Regions from separate parts of the Homo sapiens genome. Here regions 1 and 3 are each linked to region 2. The links are contacts of gene promoters, found by promoter capture Hi-C in blood cells and fetal thymus (Javierre and others, 2016). All regions are on one chromosome and are shown on one strand. Each heading gives the region's core, a stretch centred on a gene start or on the middle of the fragment in contact. The rest is flanking DNA. Distances are from core to core; before and after follow the strand shown. Region 1 holds the start of FYTTD1 (forty-two-three domain containing 1). Region 2 holds the start of NRROS (negative regulator of reactive oxygen species). Region 3 holds the start of ACAP2 (ArfGAP with coiled-coil, ankyrin repeat and PH domains 2).

What was found. Contacts are between HindIII fragments. The CHiCAGO score rates a contact against its expected background, and 5 or more counts as called.
Region 1: a contact is called between the fragment with the promoter of FYTTD1 here and the fragment with the promoter of NRROS in region 2, in 1 of 17 cell types (naive B cells). The highest score is 5.3, in naive B cells.
Region 3: the fragment with the promoter of ACAP2 here is called in contact with the fragment with the promoter of NRROS in region 2 in 1 of 17 cell types (fetal thymus); the score reaches 5.1 in fetal thymus.

The regions. Positions count from the first base shown.
Region 1 is chr3:197,748,008-197,751,205 of GRCh38, forward strand. FYTTD1 (forty-two-three domain containing 1) reads left to right here and starts at 1,876. Exons shown (of 9, transcript NM_032288.7): 1 at 1,876-2,067. The coding sequence starts at 1,965. It also overlaps a transcript of RUBCN not described here. RefSeq lists silencers at 1,673-2,012, 2,113-2,382. The HindIII fragment of the contact is 7,876 bases long and covers 691-3,198 here.
Region 2 is chr3:196,638,255-196,641,264 of GRCh38, forward strand. It overlaps NRROS (negative regulator of reactive oxygen species), which reads left to right and starts at 1,440. Exons shown (of 3, transcript NM_198565.3): 1 at 1,440-1,621. RefSeq lists silencers at 1,077-1,506, 1,527-1,626 and an enhancer at 2,077-2,196. The HindIII fragment of the contact is 14,541 bases long and covers 1-3,010 here.
Region 3 is chr3:195,441,436-195,444,615 of GRCh38, forward strand. It overlaps ACAP2 (ArfGAP with coiled-coil, ankyrin repeat and PH domains 2), which reads right to left and starts at 1,585. Exons shown (of 23, transcript NM_012287.6): 1 at 1,360-1,585. The coding sequence starts at 1,412. RefSeq lists enhancers at 500-589, 1,129-1,628 and silencers at 1,040-1,089, 1,110-1,329, 1,450-1,949. The HindIII fragment of the contact is 4,201 bases long and covers 253-3,180 here.

The DNA.
Region 1 (3,198 bases), core at 626-3,125, 1.1 Mb after region 2:
TGCAACCTCCGCCTCCCGGGTTCAAGCGATTCTCCTGCCTCAGCCTCCCAAGTAGCTGAGATTACAGGTGCCCACCATCATGCCCGGCTAATTTTTTTATTTTTTTATTTATTTTTATTTTTTAGTAGGGGTTTCACCATGTTGGTCAGGCTGGTCTCAAACTCCTGACCTCAGGTGATCCGCCTGCCTCGGCCTCCCAAAGTGCTGGGATGACAGGCGTGAGCCAGTTTCTCTAGTTTTTAGCAGTCCAGACAAATGAAGGGGCTTCAGGGTGAGAGAGTAGTAAAATCAAGCACATTATGCTAAGGACATACATGATATTCTCCTTGACATGCCAAATATTGTTCTTGAGTTTCCGAGTCCAAACTTTCCTCCACTATTAAAGTTTCTTGTGCCCCTTGATAGGTGTGTGGTTCACTCTTCCTATATTGTTATGTCCTTGTCATGATAAAAAAAAAGAGACATCTTAACCTTTGAGAATAAGAAGTTATTTAGAATATTCCCAAAAGCCTAACAAAAATCATACATTTCCCCAAGATAAGACTACTAGGCTTACAAAAAAGTCATGGTTCTTTGAGTTCAGCTGGAAACATAATCTGTGTGAAGACTCCTGGTTTTATCCATGCTACATATACAGGAAACGTTCACATTTACTTTTATTGTTAAGGTGACCGCAAAATTGTCACTGCAAGCTTTGCTTTAAATTCAGGCCTGGAAAGGGGAGCTGGAACAGCTGGCTTTAATTTTTAAGTGTGACATGCATAAGAAATATTTTAAAACATGGGATCCCCAAGCAAAAAATAGTAAATGTGTCATTGGTGTTGAAGTTGGAAGCCACATGACATTGTGACATGACTAAATTAAGCAAAGGCTACTGTGGTTTTGAGATGGCTGGTTTCCATGCTAAAGGAATTTTTGCATTTTATGAATTGGAGAGGAGAAAGGCGACAGAGATTTCTAGGTGGACAGAATGCATCTGGTATTGTCCTTAGATGTAAATATCCGAGATAGTTTTAAGCTGTATGAGGGTGATATAACCTAAACGCTTCCACATAAACGCAGTTACTTCAGGGAAGGAGAATGAGGTAAGAAGAGAGGTAAATACCGTATGTTGTAAACGGAAAAAAGTTATCATGCAGGAATTCATCAAATATTAAACTGTTTTCCCGTAGGGATGATTAAAAAGTAAACGAACCCTTCTATCCATTCCCAATGCAAATGAATTAGAAGAAAATGCAGCTACATCAACAGAGGTACTTACCCCTCCCGAGGGAAGCTGAGGTCTTATTAGGGTAGTGAACACCGTGCCAGATGTTTTGAGAGTGCCGATTGAGAGAAGGTACAGACACGGGAAACGTTAGCATTTACTTTGGAGTTAAGGTGACGCAGGAACCGTCACTGCAGCGTTTGCTTTGCGTTCAGATGCGGCAGCTCAGCGCAGCTGTAGGTGGAGGAGCGTGCCAGGGAGGGGGGAGCTGGGATGCAGCTGCAATCTACACTCGCAGGGGTCTGTCCTGCCTCCCGAGGCTGCGTTGCGGTGGGCGCGAAAGGCTCGTGTGTACCGAAGTATAGGGGACCTGTCTGCAGCAGGAGGGACTCGAAGGACACGGAGGATTATATCACTGAAGGCATAAGATTCAGAGGTGCCCGCGGTCTAGCATCCCCCAGTTTGGGCGGAAAGTCGAACTGCTCACAACGGCGGTCCTCGCGAGCGCCTAGCACAGCGGCTGCAATGCCTCGTCCGATCCTGCGAGGGCCGCTAGGAGCGAGTCACGGCGCGGGGCCGCTCTGGTCGCCCGCGAGTGTCGGTGGCCCCGCCCCGCCCGCAGCCGCGGGTGGAGACCGAGGACGGCGCCGGCGCGTGCGCGCTCCCTCGGTGCGGCGGGCTGCGTGCGCGAGTGGGAGGTGGCAGGCCTGCGACTCCGGCCTTGTCCGCGCCCGCTCTCGGCGCGACGTCTCCAGCCATGAACCGGTTTGGTACCCGGTTGGTGGGAGCCACGGCGACTTCTTCGCCGCCGCCGAAGGCCCGCAGCAATGAAAACCTCGACAAAATAGATATGTCTTTGGGTGAGGGGCCGAGTTGGACCGAGTTGGAGTGCGGGGGAGGGCGCGGGTGGAAGCCGGCGGCGCGGTTTGTGGGGGCAGGGGCGGTCGGCAGCAGTTGCCGGCGGAGTTTTCTCGCTGGTGGGCGGACCCGAGCGGAGGCCCGGAGGACAGCCGGGAGCGCAGGCTCGACGCCAGGTGCCCGGCTGGACCGCGAGGGACCCGGGCGTCCCCTCGGCCGCGGCAGTCGGAGGAGGGGCTGTGGAGGCGGGGGCAGGGGCGCTGCGGGCCCGAAGGTTCGCAGGGTCGCGGGGGGCGTCTCTTCTCCCCGGAGGGGCTACGGCTCGCCGCTCGCCGGCTCTTTGTGAGGAAAGATCTGCCGGTTTCCCCGGAGCGCGTTCGCGGTGGGCGTTATCGGGGAGCGAGGGGAATGGTCCGACCGAGCCGTTCTCTCTGAAGAAAGGTCTTGGAGAGCCCGGCCGGGGCTGCGGTCGGTTAAACCAGCGCTTCCGGAGCTTTCCCTGGTCGCCGGGCGTTCCAGGCCGGCGCCGGCCATGGCTGCCGGGCGCGACTCTCGGGGCCACCTCCGGCCGCGGCCCCGGAGCGTCTGTCAGAAAGGAAGCAGCGCTCGGCCGCCTGTGGGATGTGGTTGTGTATTGAGCGCTGCCTAGAAAAGCACAGTCTCCCTCTCCAGGCCTCAGAGCTAGCTAATGGGGGAGAAAGCAAACATCTTTGAAGGAGAGATGATTGCTGTGGCTCGCTGAGAAGCCAGGTAAAGCGTGGGGTTCTTGAGCGCATCTGAGAGGGTGGCGTGGTTTCTTGCCGATTATATAAAAACCGGGAGGTTGGTGATTCCATTAAAATCCAGCCCTGACACTACCGAGGCACCAGCCGCTGTGGTTAGCTTAGGTGGGCTAAAAGTACGAATATTTTTGTCGGGATTCAAGTGATGGCGTTGGGTGTAAGTCAGCTCTGCCAGGTGTTTGGCTGGCAGTTTTTCGGATATTTGAAAAGTACCTGACTAGTGGATTCCGAGGCGTACCCTTTCCCAGGACGGTCTTTAGAGTGATAACTGTCTTGGAAACCTTCTTTCGGTTTTCATTTCTTCCCATTTGTCTTGTGTGTCTTTTGTTGTGGTTTATCTGGAACGTTTTT
Region 2 (3,010 bases), core at 190-2,689:
TCTGGATCTTCTCTCGTGGAAGAGAATGTTGGAGCTAGAAATTAAAATTGGGGAGTTACCAACTGATTGGTAGACACAAAAGACATGAAGTAGAGAATGTGCATACAAGAGAGAAAGAGGCCTGAATCAAGCACCTGGGTTTGCAACAATTTGATCTTTATTTAGCTTTTTCATTGGTGTGATTGTTATTACCATTATGAGATAATATTTTATTTTTAAAATTATTTTTATTTTTTTAAAGACGGAGTCACACTCTATCACACAGGCTGAAGTGCAATGGCGTGATCTTGGCTCACTGCAGCCTCAACCTCCCTGTGCTCAGGTGATCCTCCCACCTCAGCCTCCCAAATAGCTGGGACTACAGGTGCGTGCCACCAGGTCTGGCTAAGTTTTAAATTTTTTGTACATATGGAGTCTCAGTATGTTGCCCAGGCTGGTCTTGCACTCAGGCGGTCCACCTGCCTTGGTCTGCCAAAATGCTAGGATTACAAGCCTGAGCCTCTGTGCCCGGCCATGAGTGAATATTGTAGAAAGCAGAGACAATGTGCCAGATGTTTGGAGTGAAAAGGACTTGGCTCCTGTTCTCTTAGGATGGACAATGCTACACACAATCCCAAATCACAGGCTATAAGAGAGGTGACCCAATCCTGCAGGACAGTTCAACGTTTCAGATTTGAAGGGGAGTGAGAGAGATCAGAACTGGAGGCCCCTTGTCTGAGCCCCCGACTATGGTGGTCCACGTCACTCCACACGCAGCAGGCACTGTAAATATTTCACCTTCTCTAGACGACAGTAGTTCCTCGAGAACAGGAGCGCTGGGGTAATGCATATGAAGCTCTTAGCACAGTGTCTGGCGCTGCTTCAATGATGGCTATATGATCAATTATTCTTACTCCTTTGAATTCTTGGCAAGAGCTGGCAGGGAACTTTGTACACATCAGGTACAAAAAAACCCATCCGCGCAGTCTAAGATCAAGAAGCTCTTGGCACTCTCTGACAGTCCTCGACAAAGCAATTCCCCTTCTTTCTAACACAGGGTCCGTAAAGGAGATGATCCACAAGGACCGGCTGAGTGGATAAGAAGACAGACTGGCTGAGCGGCTGACCCTGCCAGACGACAGGCTGTGCCTCTTTACCACGGTGCTGCCGTTCCCAAAGTCGGCCTCAGCTTGGTCCTTGGCTGGAAGCTCGTAGCAAAGTTTCTGGGTCAGCAGACCTCATAGGCAAGGGGCCCCTAGCTGGCCGCCCCCAGCCCTGCCAAGGCACCAACGCAAGAAAGCCGGGGGAGCCTCGGTCGCATTGCTGGAAGATCGTCTAAACATCCCCGCTGCTCGGCCGCTAGGCCGGCAGGTGTTCGGGCCCCGCTCCCCCGGCCCGCCCCACCCCCGCGCCCGCGCCGCGCTTCCCTCTAAGAGGCCGGGTCTGAGTGAGCCTGTGCTGAGTCGCCGAGCAGCCCGCTCTCCATGTGACTTCAGTTTCCGTCCGTTCCTTCCGCTGGTGCTAAAATAATCTGATGCCCCACAGCAAGGAGGTAGCCCAGCCCCGCGTTCGGCTGCTCTCGAGGAGGCCGGAGCCCCCGGAGACGATGCGCCCCGCGCAGCCGCCTGCGCCTGCGGGAGCCGTGAGTATTTCCCGCGTGGGGGCGTCCCCGGGGCACAGCCGGGGCCCTTCTCCAGGTGGGCGAGCTCGAGCGAGGTTGGGTGGTAGGAGGTCAGCGTCCGCGGCCCGCAGCTCAGGGCTCACGAGGAAGCTGTGGCTTGCTGCGTCCAAGCGCCGCCGCTTTTGTGCTGGGCGTGGGGGCTGCAGCTCTGGGTGGAGGTGGAAATACCTCCCTCCAGGAGCACTTAGAGCTGAGAAAGGTGGTGCGACGTAGTGGAAACCACGAGGGCTTCAGATTCAGACGTGGGTTTGAGTCCTGGCTCTGCAGGGAGCATGTGAGCAGACAGTTAAGGTTTCTGAGCCTCAGTTTTCTCATCTGCAAAATGGGAACAGAGATGCTCCCTCCCTGGGCTGGGCGACTGGATATGATGAGACCGCTCTGTGCACACTCAGCATGCTGAGCACTGGGCTCTCCTTTCCTGTCCCACAACGTGGATTGAGAACCACTATCTCATAGATGAAGACACTAAGACTGGTTAACAGCAACACCTATCACAGATGCCGTCCACGTGCCAGGCCTGTCCAAGGCCCTGGGGATACAGCTGTGAAAATGTGCAAAGCCCCTTCTCCCACAGAACGTTTGTCCTTGGGAGATTCACTGGGGCTCTGTGACTTGGATCTTAGCCTAGACTTAGATCCATGGCTTATCAGAGGGAGACTAACAGGAGGGCGACGAAGACTCGGACGCTCTTCCGTAGCCCTCGTGGCCCCTGCATGTGGGCCGGCTTCTGAAGGGGTCAGCGTACTTCCCCACGTACCCAGGAGCTAGACGGAAAGAAGTAAGGAGCCACTGGTGTGGCTTTGTGCTGCCTCTGAGAGAAGGTGGACACGTGCCAGTTGGTGGCTGCGACTGGAGGAGGCCGGATCGGGGGTCCTAGGAATGGAGCCTCTCCGGACAGGGCTGGTCGGGGCTGCTGTGCTTCCCTAGGGGCTGAGGGGACCCCACCGGAGGCTTCTTCATGATGGGCACAGCCCGTTAGGAGTCTGGGTGCTAGAAACATTCAGCGTCTGTGGCCCTCCATGCTTTCCTGTGTGCTCCTCACCTGCCGGCTGTGACACACAGACTGTTCTGTGGATGCTGAGGGTTTGCTGGGCTTTACATTTACAATACGTATTTATTCTCCTCACACACCTCTTAGGTTTGTGTGTGTGTGCCCGAGAGTCCCTAAAGGAGATTATAGAATCATGGGCCCAGGAAAAAACCTTAACTCCTGCCTTTAGGTTAAAAAAACAAAACAAAACAAAACAAAACAAAACAAACTCAGCTTCACAAAGAAGGCACTTTTTAAAAATATATATATTTATTTATTTATTTTTAGAGACAGGCTCTTGCTCTGTTGCCCAGACTGGA
Region 3 (3,180 bases), core at 335-2,834, 1.2 Mb before region 2:
TAATAGCCCTAGGCTCCAATAAAATTAATACCCAAAAATCATCAAAGGGCAAACGCAAAAAGCGTTCTTAAATTTTCTCTAAGTAGCAGTTCCTTAGTTTTACAATTCTTTTCTTTTTCGCTGAAAGGAGAATAAGAAATCCAATTAACAGTGTTAAGGATGAGAACAGTTAGTTCCCAGGCAGAGGATGCAATTTACAATCCAGGCTTGGCCCAGACATTAGCGGGCACACACACGCCAGTGCTCAGAGGAAGCTTCAAGAAATGTCACTATCTAACGGAAGTGTTAAGGCCTTATATTTGTAAGGACTATGACCAGCCCTGTAAATAAATACACTGTAAAACGCAACCTAGAAAAACTCCATTGTCCAAAACAACTCAAGACTTTCCTACTATCCTCAAAACAGAAAGAACCTGTGTCCTGGACGGCCTCAGGACGACCGCCTCTCACATAGAAAGAAGGGCAACCCATGTGAATCGGAGTGCCCCCATGTCAACTCTGTGACAGATCCACTGGGAGCATCCGACTGTGATCCGGGCCCTCCTGGGCAGAGGCTGCTGGAAGAGGAACACACAGGCAATCTTCACGGCCCTCCTACTTCCGTTCTCAAAACAGAAATGCACTTTTCTGCTAGTCCTCCGCCCTCAGCCCGGTACCTCTCGACAGCTGTGCCCCCTTCAACGAGCTTAAGTGGAAAGAAAAGCAGGTAGTCACCAACTAGGGTCCACGGAATGCGGTTGATCACAGCGCTTCCCCCCGCGATTCCCGCACGCATCCACCGCGGGCGCCCTCCGGAGAGTCGCTCTGGCCGGGGGCACCGCGAAGCAGAAGTCGGCGTCCCAGTTCGCCCCCTACTCTCTCCTCCCCGGGGAAGGGGGGCAGAAAAGCGCAAAGAGGAACTAAATGAACTGCAAGAGGATGCCCTGAAAGCTCCCTCAAAGAGGGGGTGGGGAGGGGGTGGAAACCAAGAAGGGGCGGAAGGAAGGGGGAAGGAAGAGCAGCCAGAGGAGGAAGGGGGCGAGAGCGAGCGCCCGCGAAGGGGACGGGACTTCGGGAGCGCGGCTGCACCCCATTTCCCCCAGCGGGAGAGGGTGCGCCGGCCTTCGGGGCGCTCCGCCCCGGCAGAGGGCAAGGAAAGAAATGAGAGGCGACGTCCCCGTCCCCGCCACTTCGTCGCCCCTCGGGAGGGCTCGGTGGGGACTGCAGTGCCCTCGCAGGGTGGGAAACGGCGGCAACAGCCGCTCGCCCCGTCGGAAGGAGCGGACGGCGGGGCCTCCTCCGGGTGCGCGGGCCCGGCTTTCACGCCCCCAGCGCCGGGAAGGCAGCTCCGCGGTGACGCCGGGCGGCCGTGCCGGTTACCTGAAGCGGGGCGAGTCCTTCAGACACTCCTCGAAATCCACAGTCATCTTCATCCTGCCTCCGCCTCGCAGGCGGCGCTGGCAAAGCCGAGGGGGCCGCGGGAGCGGCCGCGCTGGGACGCAGACGGCTACGGCGGGCGCACGGCCGCGACTAGCGTTGCGCGGAGCTGCGAAGGGCGCCTCGCCCGCTGGTCATAGCAGCCGCGAAGACGGCGACGACTAGTCAGGCCCCAGTCCCGCCCCTCTTCCTCCCGCCCCAAGTAGAGCGCTGGCCGCAGGGAAACGGCCGGGGAGTGACAGCAGCGGCCAGCCAGCCACGAACCTGGCGGCCAAGGGGCGGGGCATCCGGCAGCACCGCCTGCGGGCGCCCGGGCAACGGGTCTGAGCGACGGCAACCCGAGCCAATGAGCAGCGCGACCGTGGGCACCTCCTTGCCACAACCGCCCCCGAGGGCCAACCGGGATGCGCGGGCGTCGCTAGGCGGGACGCACCGGTTGCTGGGAGGCCGGCAGCTGAGGTTCCTTGGGAAGGAAGTCACGTGGCTGCGGCCGCGCTTCCCTCCGAGCCCCCGCCTCTTCTCCTGCTCCCCGAGCCCCGCCCTGCTGAGCTGCCAGCCCAGAGGAGCAGTCTCCTGCAGGTCTGAGGAAGGAAATTTGCTTTTCAAAGCAGATTGGCAGAAATCTGAAGAGGTTAGAGGCAGAAATTATAAAAGGAAGAGATAGGCTAAGCCACCTATTCCTTTCAGTTTAGAGAAACTGAGGCCAGAAGAGGAGCGAGGATAACTTTAGTGATAAAATCCATCTTTCATGTATTTGTTCCATAGCTTCATAATCTGGAAATTGCTCCCATGTACATCTTCTCATATAGCCAGAGACCACTTCCTGAAGGAGCTGCCGTTTGGGTTGGACATAGAAAGATTTAGGCAGGTATGGGAGGTAGGGTGCTTCGTGTGGAGGAACTCCTCTCAAAACTGCCGAAAGCATTCCCCCTCACTGACACTTTGCTCCTGGTGGTTTTCACTGTTCTGCCATGGTGGGGTTCTGAAGACCAGGCTCATCGTACTCACCTTGCAACACCTGCCCCTCTAATCCACACTTTTTCTAGAAGCACTTTAAGATACTTATCATCTGATCCTCACGGCAGGTATTTACCATACTCCTTCATTTTAAGATGCCATTGATTGTAAAAAGTACAAAGATGTCTTATATGTAATGAGTAATTTTTAAGCCAACCTAAAAAACACGGGCGTATCTATAAAAATGAATATACAGGGTGTTCTAACAGCATAGTGGCTCTGAGTGAGAATCTGGAGGCAAACTTCCTGGATTTAGGTCCCAGCTTTCTCACTTTAAAATGAACATAACACACAGATCTGATGAAGTTGTCCGGTTAACACAGTGCCACATATCGATCATTCAGTAAATGTTGGCTATTTTAATTGTACCATTTGCCTCTTCAGTACTATAATCAAAGGGCTTAAGTCTAAGTTCTCTCACTTTCACTGTCTGAAGTTTTTGTTTGTCTCAAAAACAATCAAACAATTTCGTTCCGTTCCCCAGGCTGGTCTCAAACTCATGGCCTCAAGTGATCCTTCTGTCTCAGCCTCCCAAAATGCTGAGATTACAGGTGTGAGCCACACACCCAGCCTTCTAAAGTCTTAATATAACTTTCTGACCGTCTGGCTAAGTATAGCGTGATGACATACTGTTTTTCGTAACCCATCAAGAGATATCTTGATCTCTTTAGCATCTTTAGAAATTAACAGTATAGACAGGGCATGGTGGCTCACACCTGTAATCCCAGCACTTTGGGAGGCCGAGGT